Linked DNA regions of Homo sapiens: region 1 is linked to region 2. The links are contacts of gene promoters, found by promoter capture Hi-C in blood cells and fetal thymus (Javierre and others, 2016). All regions are on one chromosome and are shown on one strand. Each heading gives the region's core, a stretch centred on a gene start or on the middle of the fragment in contact. The rest is flanking DNA. Distances are from core to core; before and after follow the strand shown.

Region 1 (5,657 bases), core at 293-2,792, about 13 Mb before region 2:
TGCAGATCACTCTCAGTTGTAAGATCTGTTCATAGAAATATTGGTGTAGCACAACTCAGAAGACTGTGGGCTTTCTATTCCCCCAGATAGTTTAACATTTCTATTCAAATGTCAAGACAAACCACCAGAGAACCATGACTTTGGAATATAGTTGTCTATTCTCTGAGAGTCTTTCTTTGGCGTTAAAAAATAAGCAAAGAAACAGAAGGTGTACAAAAGAACCCACCCAATGGAAATTAAACAACTGGAAAATACAAAACCAAAATGAAAACTCACTGCACAAACTCAACAGATTAGGTATGACAAAGAAAACAATCAGTGAGGACCATGGAAGGTCAATAAAAATTAATCAATATTAACAAGACAGAAAATAGACTGGAAAAAGAAAAAAGATGAGAGCCTGAAGGACCCATGGGAGTGTAAAACAAGATCTGCCACTCATGTTATTGAAGTCCCTAAAAAAGACAAGACTGGGGGGTGAAAAAATATTTGAAGAAATAATAGTTGAAAGTTCCCCAAATTTTGCAAAAGGCATAATCCTACAGATCAAAAAGCTGGGCAAGCACCAGGGAGCGCCAAATAGAATACACCCAAAAACTTCCATGCCACGCACATCACAGCCAAACTTCTGAACACTAGAGACAATGAAAAACACTTTGAATGAAGCTTGACAGAACTGATGCATTGTAAAATAGGGAATGATTATTTGAATGCTAGTAGGTTTCTTATATTAAACAATAATGTACAGAACAGAGAGATACATCTCTGAAGTCTAAAAGAAAACAACTGCCAACTCTGAATCTTATATTCCACAAAAATATTCTTTGGGAATGAAGGAAACATAAAGACATCTTTAGAGGAAGGAAAACAAAGAACATTTGTTACTCTAGAAGAAAGGCTACAGTAAAGTTCAGTGTATAACTGAAAAGAAATGTTAATAGAAGGTTTGGGATTTCAAGAAAGAAGAATGAACAATGGAATGGGTAAAGAGGTCGACAGGCCAAGGTTGGCGGATCACAAGGTCAGGAGTTTGAGACCAGCCTGAGCAACATGGTGAAACCCCGTCTCTACTAAAAATACAAAATTAGCTGGGTGTGGCGGCGCACACCTGTAATCCCAGCTACTCAGGAGGCTGAGGCAGGAGAATCGCTTGAACCCAGGAGGCGGAGGTTGCAGTGAGCCAAGATCGTGCCACTGCACTCCAGCCTGGGTGACAGAGTGAGACTCTGTCTCTTTAAAAAAAAAAAAAAAAAAAAAAGGTCAAGAGACAATGTTTCTCATGACGTTTTGTAAAATACGTGTGAGAGATAAAGTAAAAATTACATCTTGTGGCCGGGTGCAGTGGCTCACACCTGTAACCCCAGCACTTTGGGGGGCCGAGGCGGGTGGATCATGAGGTCAAGAGTTCAAGACCAACCTGGCCAAGATGGTGAAACCCCGTCTCTACTAAAAATACAAAAATTAGCCAGGCGTGGTGGCGGGCGCCTGTAATCCATTACTAGGGAAGCTGAGGCAGTTAATTGCTTGAACCCGGGAGGCAGAGGTTGCAGAGAGCCGAGATCGCATCACAGCACTCCAGCGTGGGTGACAGAGTGAGACTTGGTCTCAAAAAAAAGGAAAAGAAAAATTACATCTTGCAACATAGCGCTCAATTTTTGAAGAGGAATTACTATTACTTAAGATAGTTACATTAGTAGGTAAGCTAAAGGAACCTAATGGAAGTAAAGTGCTAAATTGCTGATAACTTATTAAACTGTCATAAGTTATATATTTACACTGTAATAGTAGAACAATCACTAAAAAATGCAGATATATACAGACAGTCCCTGACTTAGGATGGTTCGACTTACTACTTGACTTTACAATGGTGCGAATGCGACATGCATTCAGTAGAAACCACACTTGAATTTTTATTTAAAATTCTTTGCAGTAACTTTATTATAAAGTAGGCCTTGTGTTAGATGATTTTGCCCAACTGCAGGCTAATGTAAATTTTCTGAGCATTCTGAAGGCAAGATCGGCTATGATGTTCAGCAGGGTAGGTGTATTAAATGCATATTTGACATAGTATTTTCAACTTGCAATGGGTTTATTGTGACATAACCCCATCATAAGTCAAGGAGGATCTATACTAAAAAACACTACATATGTATCAAATCAAATTATTAAAAAAAAAAAAGGTGAAGTAACCTATAGGAAGACTAGTAAACAACCCCAAATAACAGAGGAACAATAAAAAAGAACACAAAAATCATTTAAGGGCACACTTAAGCCCTAAAATATCAATAATTATTTTAATGTAAATCATTTCAACATACCAATTAAGAGAGACATATGCAGAATGAATAAAAAAAGCATGGCCTGAGTATATGCTGTTCAAAGAAACTGACTTCATAAGTAATGATACAGGTAAGCTTTAAAATAAAATGAAGAAATATTAACCATGCAAACATTAATCAAAATATGCAGGAGTCACTATGAGAACATCAGGTAAAGTATTGACAAGACTATTAAAAGGCAAAAAAATGACATCACATAATGACAGAAGAGTCAATTCACCACAAAGACTTGGCAAACCTACATGTATATGTACCAAACAATACAGCTTTGAACTTTGCAAACAAAAAGTGATAGAACTTGAAAGAGCAACACACTTCCACAATCATGTTCAGGACTTTTTGTTGTTGTTGTTGAGACAGAGTCTCGCTCTGTTGCCCAGGCTGGAGTGCAGTGGTGAGATCTCAGCTCACTGCAACCTCTGCCTCCCACGTTCAACTGATCCTCCTGCCTCAGCCCCCCAGCAGCTGGGATTACAGGCACACGCCACCATGCCTGGCTAATTTTTGTATTTTTAGTAGACAGGGTTTTGCCATGTTGGCCAGGCTGGTCTCGAACTCCTGGCCTCAGGTGATCCACCTGCCTTAGTGGTCTCAAAGTGCTAGGATTACAGGCGTGAGCCACTGCACCCGGCCTATGTTCAGGACTTCAACACCCCTCTCAGCAACTGACAGAAATGCTGGACAGAAAATCAGCAAGGACATAGCTGACTTGAATAACAATGAGCAGGATCATAGAGACATTTATAGAAACTCCACCCAGTAACAGCAGAACACCCATTCTTTTCAAGCAGCTATACGAAACAAGATAGACCCTATCCTGGGTCATAAAAAAATGTTAACACATTTAAACAGTCAGATCAAACATGGAACAAATTAGAAATCAGTAACAAATATGCCAAACACCAGAAAATTAAGCATACTATTAAATAATTCATGGCTAAGAGAGAATGTCTCAAAAAATAAAAACTATTAGAATTAAAATGTAATGAAAACATTAAAACTTGTGGGATCAAACCAATAGTGATATGAGGTAAATTTATACAATGTAATGCTTACATTAAAAAAGCAAAAAAATCTCAAATCAATAATCTAAAACCCCACCTTGAAAAGTTAGAAAGAGCCAAATACAACCAAAGCAAGTGGAATATAATACCGATCAGAGCAGAAATCAAAGAAATCAAGAATAGAGACAAATCATTAATATAAAGTGCTAGTTCTCTGAAGTGAGAGATGAAGCAAAAATTACATCTTTCAGCATGATGCGCAATAAAACTGATAAATGTCTAAGAAGACTCAATCATAAAATGAGTATGCACATTTTAAATATTAAAAATAAAAAGAAGTGCAGATCCTGCTATCAAAAGAATAAGGGAGTGCTACAAATACAGATGAAATATTCCTTCAACAGGACAGACTATCAAAATTTATTACACAAGAAATAGATACTTCGAATAGTTCTACCTATCCAATAAAATAAATATGTAATTTAAAAGCCTCCAGAAGAAAAATCTCTGGCCCAATGGTTGACTAGAGGTCATCAAACATGACAAGAACAAATAACACCAATTCTACACAGTCTTCCAAAAATTAGAAGAGAACTCCTTCCAATTCATGTTGAAAGGTCAAGATCACCTAGACATCAAAACCACACATAAGACATTTAGAACATAAGAAACAAAAGAAAAAAGAACTACACATTATTAGCCAATAAATTAGAGGAATATTTCCTCAACAAAATACAAACAAAGGGAATGATGTCAAATGATATATAAAAACAATTATACTCTACAAACAAGTATGGTTTATTCTAAGGATGCAAGGCTGGCTCAATATTCAAAACTTGATCAAAGCAATACATTCCATCAATAGGATGTAGAAGGAAAATAGCATAATGACATCAACTGGTGGAGAAAAAGTACTGAACAAAATTCCACACTTATTCATAGCAACACAGAGTCTCAGAAAACTGGGAACAGAGGAAATTTTTTACCCTTATAGAGGACATATGTTTTATAAAACTTACATTATACTTCATGATGAAAAACTGAACATGCTGTGCACTGTGGCTCACGCCTGTAATCCCAGCACTTTGGGAGACCCAGGCAAGCAGGTTGCTTGAGCCCAGGAGTTCAAGACCAGCCTGGGCACCATGGTGAAACCCTGTCTCTACCAAAAAATACAAAAATTAGCTGGGACTGGTGGTGCATGCTTGTAGTACCAGCTACTGGGGGGTGGTGAGGGCTGAGGTGGGGGGATCACTTGAGCCCAGGAACTTAAGGCTATGGTGAGACAAGATCGTGCCACTGCACTCCAGCCTGGGTGACAGAGCGAGACCCTGTCTCAAACAAAAAACAAAAAAACAAAAAACTGAACATTGTCCCCCCTACTATCAGGAACCAGGTAAGGATGGCCTTTCTCACTATTCCTATTCAACGCTATAATGGAAGTCCCAGCTTGTGCAATGCAATAAGACAAACAAAAAGGAAATAAAAGGTATATTACAGGTAAGATGAAAGATAAAAAATGGTCTGTATTTGCAGATGACATTTCTATATAGAAAATTCCAAGGATTCTGTCGAAAGAAATAGCTAAAAATAATAAGTGAACTCAATAAGGTTGCAGGGTAGCAAAACAATGTCCAAAAATATTATATTTCTGTATACTACCAAAAATTGTGTGCAATTCAAAGTTCAAACATCAATGCCATTTACAATCACTCAAATTACACACACACACAAACAAAAAAGCACCCTAGGATGCAAATTCTAACAAAAATGCATAGGGATCTATACGCTGAAAATTTTTAACATTAATGAAATACTTTAAGGAATGCTTAACTATTATAAATTAAGAGGCCTACTCCTGCACTCATGAACTACAAGACCCAACATAGTAAAGATACCAATTCTTAACAGATTAATCCACAGACTTAACTCAATTTCTGTAAAAATCTGAACAAGACTGTTTTGTAAATAAGTACAAACTAATCCTAAAAATTATATGGAATGTCAAAGGAACTAGAAATGCTGTCGATTTTAAATAAGAGCAAAGAAGAATCACTTTACTCAATTTAAAAATTTACCACTGACATTTTGAGCTAAGTAATTTTTAAAAATTTAACAAATAAAAATTTACCATATGGCTACAATGATGACGTAAACCAAAAGACGGGCATCAAGACAAAAGCCTGAATGTTAACATGTGTATCCTTACTGACTTAAACGTGAGTATTTCATGGCTCAAGCCCCCTAAGTTGTCATAAAGTTATGCTTCTCAAGAGTAAGTACTATTGTGGAATACAGAAGATGTGCGATTAAA
Region 2 (5,432 bases), core at 2,115-4,614:
CCACCTCAGCCTCCTGAGTAGCTGGGATTACAGGTACGCACCACCACGTCTGGCTAATTTTTGTGTTTTTAGTACAGACGGGGTTTCATCATGCTGGCCAGGCTGGTCTCAAACTCCTGACTTCAGGTGATCCACCCGCCTAGGCCTCCCCAAGTGCTGGGATTACAGGCATGAGCCACCGCACCTGGCCCCATCTTCTTTCAGATTTTTTTTAGTCTCAATATTCTTCAGAATAAGAACACATGCTGATTAAGTTTAGTATTTGCTAAGAAAGAGAATATTTTTAAAGTTAGAAGAATGACACAAAACCATATAAACTCCAGACCAGTTGAGCACAAATAAAAGGGAATAAACTGAACAAAAAAAGACAAGAAAGGAGAACAAAATATACACACAGATAGTAAAAGCAAATTATCCCAGACTGCACTAAAAAAAAAAAAATTATACATATATATTCTAAAAGACACTACGAAAACATAATGACAAAAAAGTTTGAAAGAAAAAGAACAAAAAAAAGATATACTGTACTGAGCAAATGGCAAATTACAGCTTCAGTTTCAGAGGTCATGGTAGAAAATAAAAAAAAAACTGACCTCAGCTACTCGGGAGGCTGAGGCAGGAGAATCGCTTGAACCCGGGAGGCAGAGGCTGCAGTGAACCGAGATGGCGCCACTGCACTCCGGTCTGGGCGACAGGCGAGACTCCGTTTCAAAAAAAAAAAAAAAACTGACCTGATGTCTGGCGTATGCTTTAAGACAACCATCTGCAGCCTTTTTGGCACCAGGGACCAGTTTCACGGAAGATAATTTTTCCACGGATGGGGGCGGGGGAGATGGTTTGGGGATGATAGGTTCCACCTCAAATCATGAGGCATTAGTTACATTCTCATAAGGAGCGCACAACCTAGATCCTTCACATGTGCAGTCCCTCCTATGAGAATCTAATGCCCCTGCTGATCTGGCAGGAGGCAGAGCTCAGGCGGTACCCCTCCAATCACCTCCTTCTGTGCTGTCAGGTTCCTAACAGGCCACAGACTAGTACCAGGTCCGCTGCCCAGAAGTTGGGACTCCTGCTTTAAGACACTCTAATTTAAAAAAAAAAAAAAAAGTGGGGTGGAAGGAGGAGGAGATGGTCTGCAGCAAATGTTGAACCTGAGTGTTGGTTACGTGGAATTCACTGCACCACTCTTTTGACAGTTGAATATGCTTGAAATTTTTCGGCTGGGCGCAGTGGCTCACGCCGGTAATCCCAGCACTTTGGGAGGCCGAGGTGGGCGGATTACCTGAGGTCAAGAGTTCAAGATTAGCCTGGGTAACACGGTGAAACCCCGTCTCTACTAAAAATACAAAAATTAGCTGGGAGTGATGGCGCACACCTGTAACCCAGTTACTCGGGAGCTTGATGCAGGAGAATCACTTGAACCTGGGAGGTGGAGGTTGCAGTGAGCTGAGATCACGCCACTGCACTCCAGCCTGGGCAACAAGAGTGAATCTCCATCTCACAAAAAAAAAGAAAAAAAAAGAAAAAAGAAAATTTTCATAATAAGAAAAAAACTACTACACAGAATACCAAACCTATTTTGAGAAACATCCATAGCATATACTAAAGGGAAACACATTAAAGTGTTAGCAGTTTTATTATAAGTAATTTAAGTTTTCTGAATATAACATCACTGTCCAATAGAAATATACTGAGACACATAAATAATTTTAAATTTTCTAGCAGTAACATATAAAAAAGGCAAAAAAACAAAAACAAAAATAGGTGAAGTTAATTTCAACAACATAATTTAAGCCAATGTATCCAAAATATTACCATTTTGACATATAATACAAAAAATTATCAATGAGCCATCTTACATTTTTTGTACAAAGTTTTTGAAATCCAGTGTGTATTTAACACTTACAGCACATCTCAATTTGGACTAGACACATTTCAAGTGCTCCTAGGGCACACATGGCTTATAGCTACTGGATTGGATAGTGCATCTCTATAATGAGCATTCATTACTTCTATAACTAGAATATGACATATTTTGACATGGAATGAAATTAAGTAAGTGAGATGTTGCAGGATTTTTCTAAAAAATTCAAAATTCATCAGTGCAGTTTTTGAGGTCTTCCACAGTAAAATCCATACCTACATTCCCAAGGCTGATTTCCAACGACTCACCGGTAGCCATATGGATTACTATTTAAGATAACTGAAGACGACTGTATCATTGAGATTAAGACCACAGACTCAGAAAAAGGAATAGAAAATAAACAACAACAAAAACCAAAGAAACAAAAACAAACAAAAAAGATCACACAGTCTGAAAAGGAATGCTTGGGTTCAATCCCAAATCCACCTCTTACTATCAGTTGAATAACTTCGGGAAAGTATTTAATAACATAAACTCTGCCTAATTTCCTCATAACAAAATAACAAGACCTACTTCATCAATAGCTATGGTCCACAGACGAATGCCTTAAAATCAAAGTGGTAAGATGTTATTGGTAATACTCATTTCCAAGTAGTTTTCCTACCCACTCTCACATTTATTCAACAAATATTTCATCATTTTTCAGTAGTAACTTACTGAGTGACGGAAACTTGATTAACTGAAAGGACAGAAAATGGAACAACAAAGTGCGTTCAAGAGCAGGTACCTGGGGCTATGCTGGGAGAAGCCAAGAAGTCCCTCCTTCCTCCTCTTTGCAAATTCGGAGGCGGTGAATAAAAGGATGCTGTCAGCACGATGGAGTCTCTATCCCGGATAAACGGCGGTAAACATCCCCACGCATTGGAGCCCGATGACTCAATCCTTCTTAAAAAAAAAAAAGATCTGTAAAAGTTCGGGAAGAGCTCGGTCTCCTGAAGGATACGACAGAAAGGCCATGGCATAAAGCCCTGACTTTTCTTCTCTCTTCACTGGAGCTTCCAGTAAAAAGGGCGCTTGTGAGGGAATCACTGTATCAATAGCAGGAGCCAACCCAGTATCAGGTGCCACCACTGTTCTAAGGTTTGACCCGTATTATCTTGTTTAATTCTAATTACAACCCTACACAGTAACGACTATCTTTATTGCTATTTTAAAGATGAGGAAACAGGAGCGCGGATCATAGGTAACTCGCTGTTTATTATACCCACAGAACTAGCGGCGCTGCTTGCCAAGTGCGGGAGGAGAGCAAACTTCCCGCCCTCGGCCTCTCGGCCTCCGCCGCGGCCGCGACCTCTCCATCCCAAGACTGATGGCTGGGGAGCGCCTATTCCCAAGCACAGGCTGAAAAGGTTCAAGAGGGGTCGTGGGGGTGCAGGGCTGACTCACCTCCCGGACCCAAAAGATGGTGGCGGCCTCGCTTTCCGGGGCGGAAGTGGCTCTGCCTGCCCAGAGCTCCTGAACTACCCTTCCCAGAAGGCCCGCGCTCCTGCGGCCCAATTGTTTCCGGACAGAGTTCTGGAATACGTTTCCCAGAACTTCCAGAAGGAAAAACCATCCAGGTGCCGCCCTCTTCGCGCTTGAAAAAAAAAAAAACAAAAAAAAAAACGGAGCGAGCGAGTGAGAGAGGGTTACGGAGAGTGTGACAAAATTCTCGGAGCTCCCGGACTACAACATCCAGAATCCTCTTCACGGCTTATTGCTGTTTAGCCAGGCTGAAGCAGTTCTCTGATGTCAGTGGAATTTAGGTTTTTCTTATTAACAAAAAGTAACAGCAAATATGTGAAGAATTGGAGCCCTAAAATAAAAAAAGACTCCCAGCACTTTGGGAGGCCGAGGCGGGCGGATCACGAGGTCAGGAGTTCCAGACCAGCTTGGCCAATATGATGAAGCCCCGTCTCTACTAAAAATATAAAAATTAGCCGGGCGTGGTGGCGCGCGCCTGTAGTCCCAGCTACTTGGGAGGCTGAGGCATAAGAATCGCTTGAACCCTGGAGGGTGCAGTGAGCCAAGATCGTGCCACTGCACTCCAGCCTGGGCGACAGAGTGAGACTCTGTCTCAAAAAAAAAAAAAAGAAAAAAAAAACTATTATAAGAAACAGATCACGTGATCCTGTACTAATAGAATTATACCCACCACTTCCAAAAAAAAAAAAAAAAAGGGCAGAGGAAACCCTTTAAGTTTTTACATTTAACAGGATCGACTAATAGAAAAACTACTCTTTAGATACTAAAAGAATGAAAGAGCAATCAAAAAATGCAACGAAGGCAGAATATATTATGGATTTCCACTTTTCTTAATAGCACAGTCATATAATTCAGAACAACTTGCTTACTGAGGATAGCTAGACATAGAAAACACAAGCTTTGGCATATGGTAGATCAACTCCACAAAGCAACTAGGGCCTCTGTAATCATTCCTCAAGGAGTTTCTGAATTTGAAAGATGAACAAATTTATTACTTCAGTGTTTAAACCTTGATCTTTATTTGCTTAAATGTATAATGGAATTGATGTTTCCAAGAATTGAGGGTTGAAAGAAGAGAGCAATACCTAAAAATATCCACATATCTACTACAGTACATGTTTGCAGTTCTCATTTACTAAATATATATTCTTTATTCTGTTATATACAACTATCTCTTATAAAGAACCAAGTATGTGCCAGGAACTAGTTCAAACTATTCAGACTATGGGACCCTCACTACATTTTCACAACTTTTTTCTTTTTTTTTTTGTTCTGTTTTGTTGTTGTTGTTGTTGTTGTTGTTGTTAGACAGAGTTTGGCTCTTTTGCCCAGGCTGGAGTGAAGTGGCATGACCTCGGCTCATTGCAACCTCCGCCCTCACACAAGGTTCAAGCAAGTCTCCTGCCTCAGCCTCCCAAGTCGCTGGGGTTATAGGCACCCCCCTCCCCACCACGCCCAGCTAATTTTTGTATTTTTAGTAGAGACGGGGTTTTGCCATCTTGGCCAGGCTAGTCTTGAATTCCTGACCTCAGGTGATCCACCCGCCCCGGCCTCCCAAAGTGCTAGGATTACAGGCATGAGCCACCACACTTAGCCCATTTTCACAACTTTTTTAAAACAAATAATGTCCTCTAGTTTACTCTTTGGGATCCAGAGGCAGAGAGAGGTTAAGTATATCTCCTAAGATGGAAATTTGATTATTTTCACCTGCATGTCTATCCAGTGCCCTTAAGAGAAGGTTCAAATGCTTTAACAAGTCGCACAAACAGGAATTTTCCAGATGCTGTTTCTCTCTTGGAATCCACTTTCCACTCTACATGTCCAGCCATAGTGGATTACTTGTACTCCTACAAAAAGCCTCTAATTCTTTGTATTTGGTGTTCCTTCTGTCATAACCTGCTACTCTTTTCCCTCCTGGGTGACGGTCTTCATCCATAGCTTAAATATTCCCTGCTCTAATAAGACTTACTGTGGGTTCTTGCCTTGTAGACTAATAAAAGTAGTGTGTAGTAGCTAATATTACAGCCTTAGTATAAAGCTATCT

What was found. The method cuts DNA at HindIII sites, captures the fragments that hold promoters and counts their contacts. A CHiCAGO score of 5 or more calls a contact.
Region 1: a fragment that was not itself captured here is called in contact with the fragment with the promoter of ZNF227 in region 2 in 1 of 17 cell types (total CD4 T cells); the score reaches 7.6 in total CD4 T cells.

What each region holds. Positions count from the first base shown.
Region 1 is chr19:57,213,386-57,219,042 of GRCh38, reverse strand. It overlaps ZNF264 (zinc finger protein 264), which reads right to left. Exons shown (of 4, transcript NM_003417.5): 4 at 1-5,657. Among named protein-coding and RNA genes, the nearest start is that of AURKC, 15 kb to the left of the region's middle. The HindIII fragment of the contact is 1,748 bases long and covers 669-2,416 here.
Region 2 is chr19:44,210,464-44,215,895 of GRCh38, reverse strand. ZNF227 (zinc finger protein 227) reads right to left here and starts at 3,364. Exons shown (of 6, transcript NM_182490.3): 1 at 3,311-3,364; 2 at 2,652-2,806. The HindIII fragment of the contact is 5,683 bases long and covers 1-4,288 here.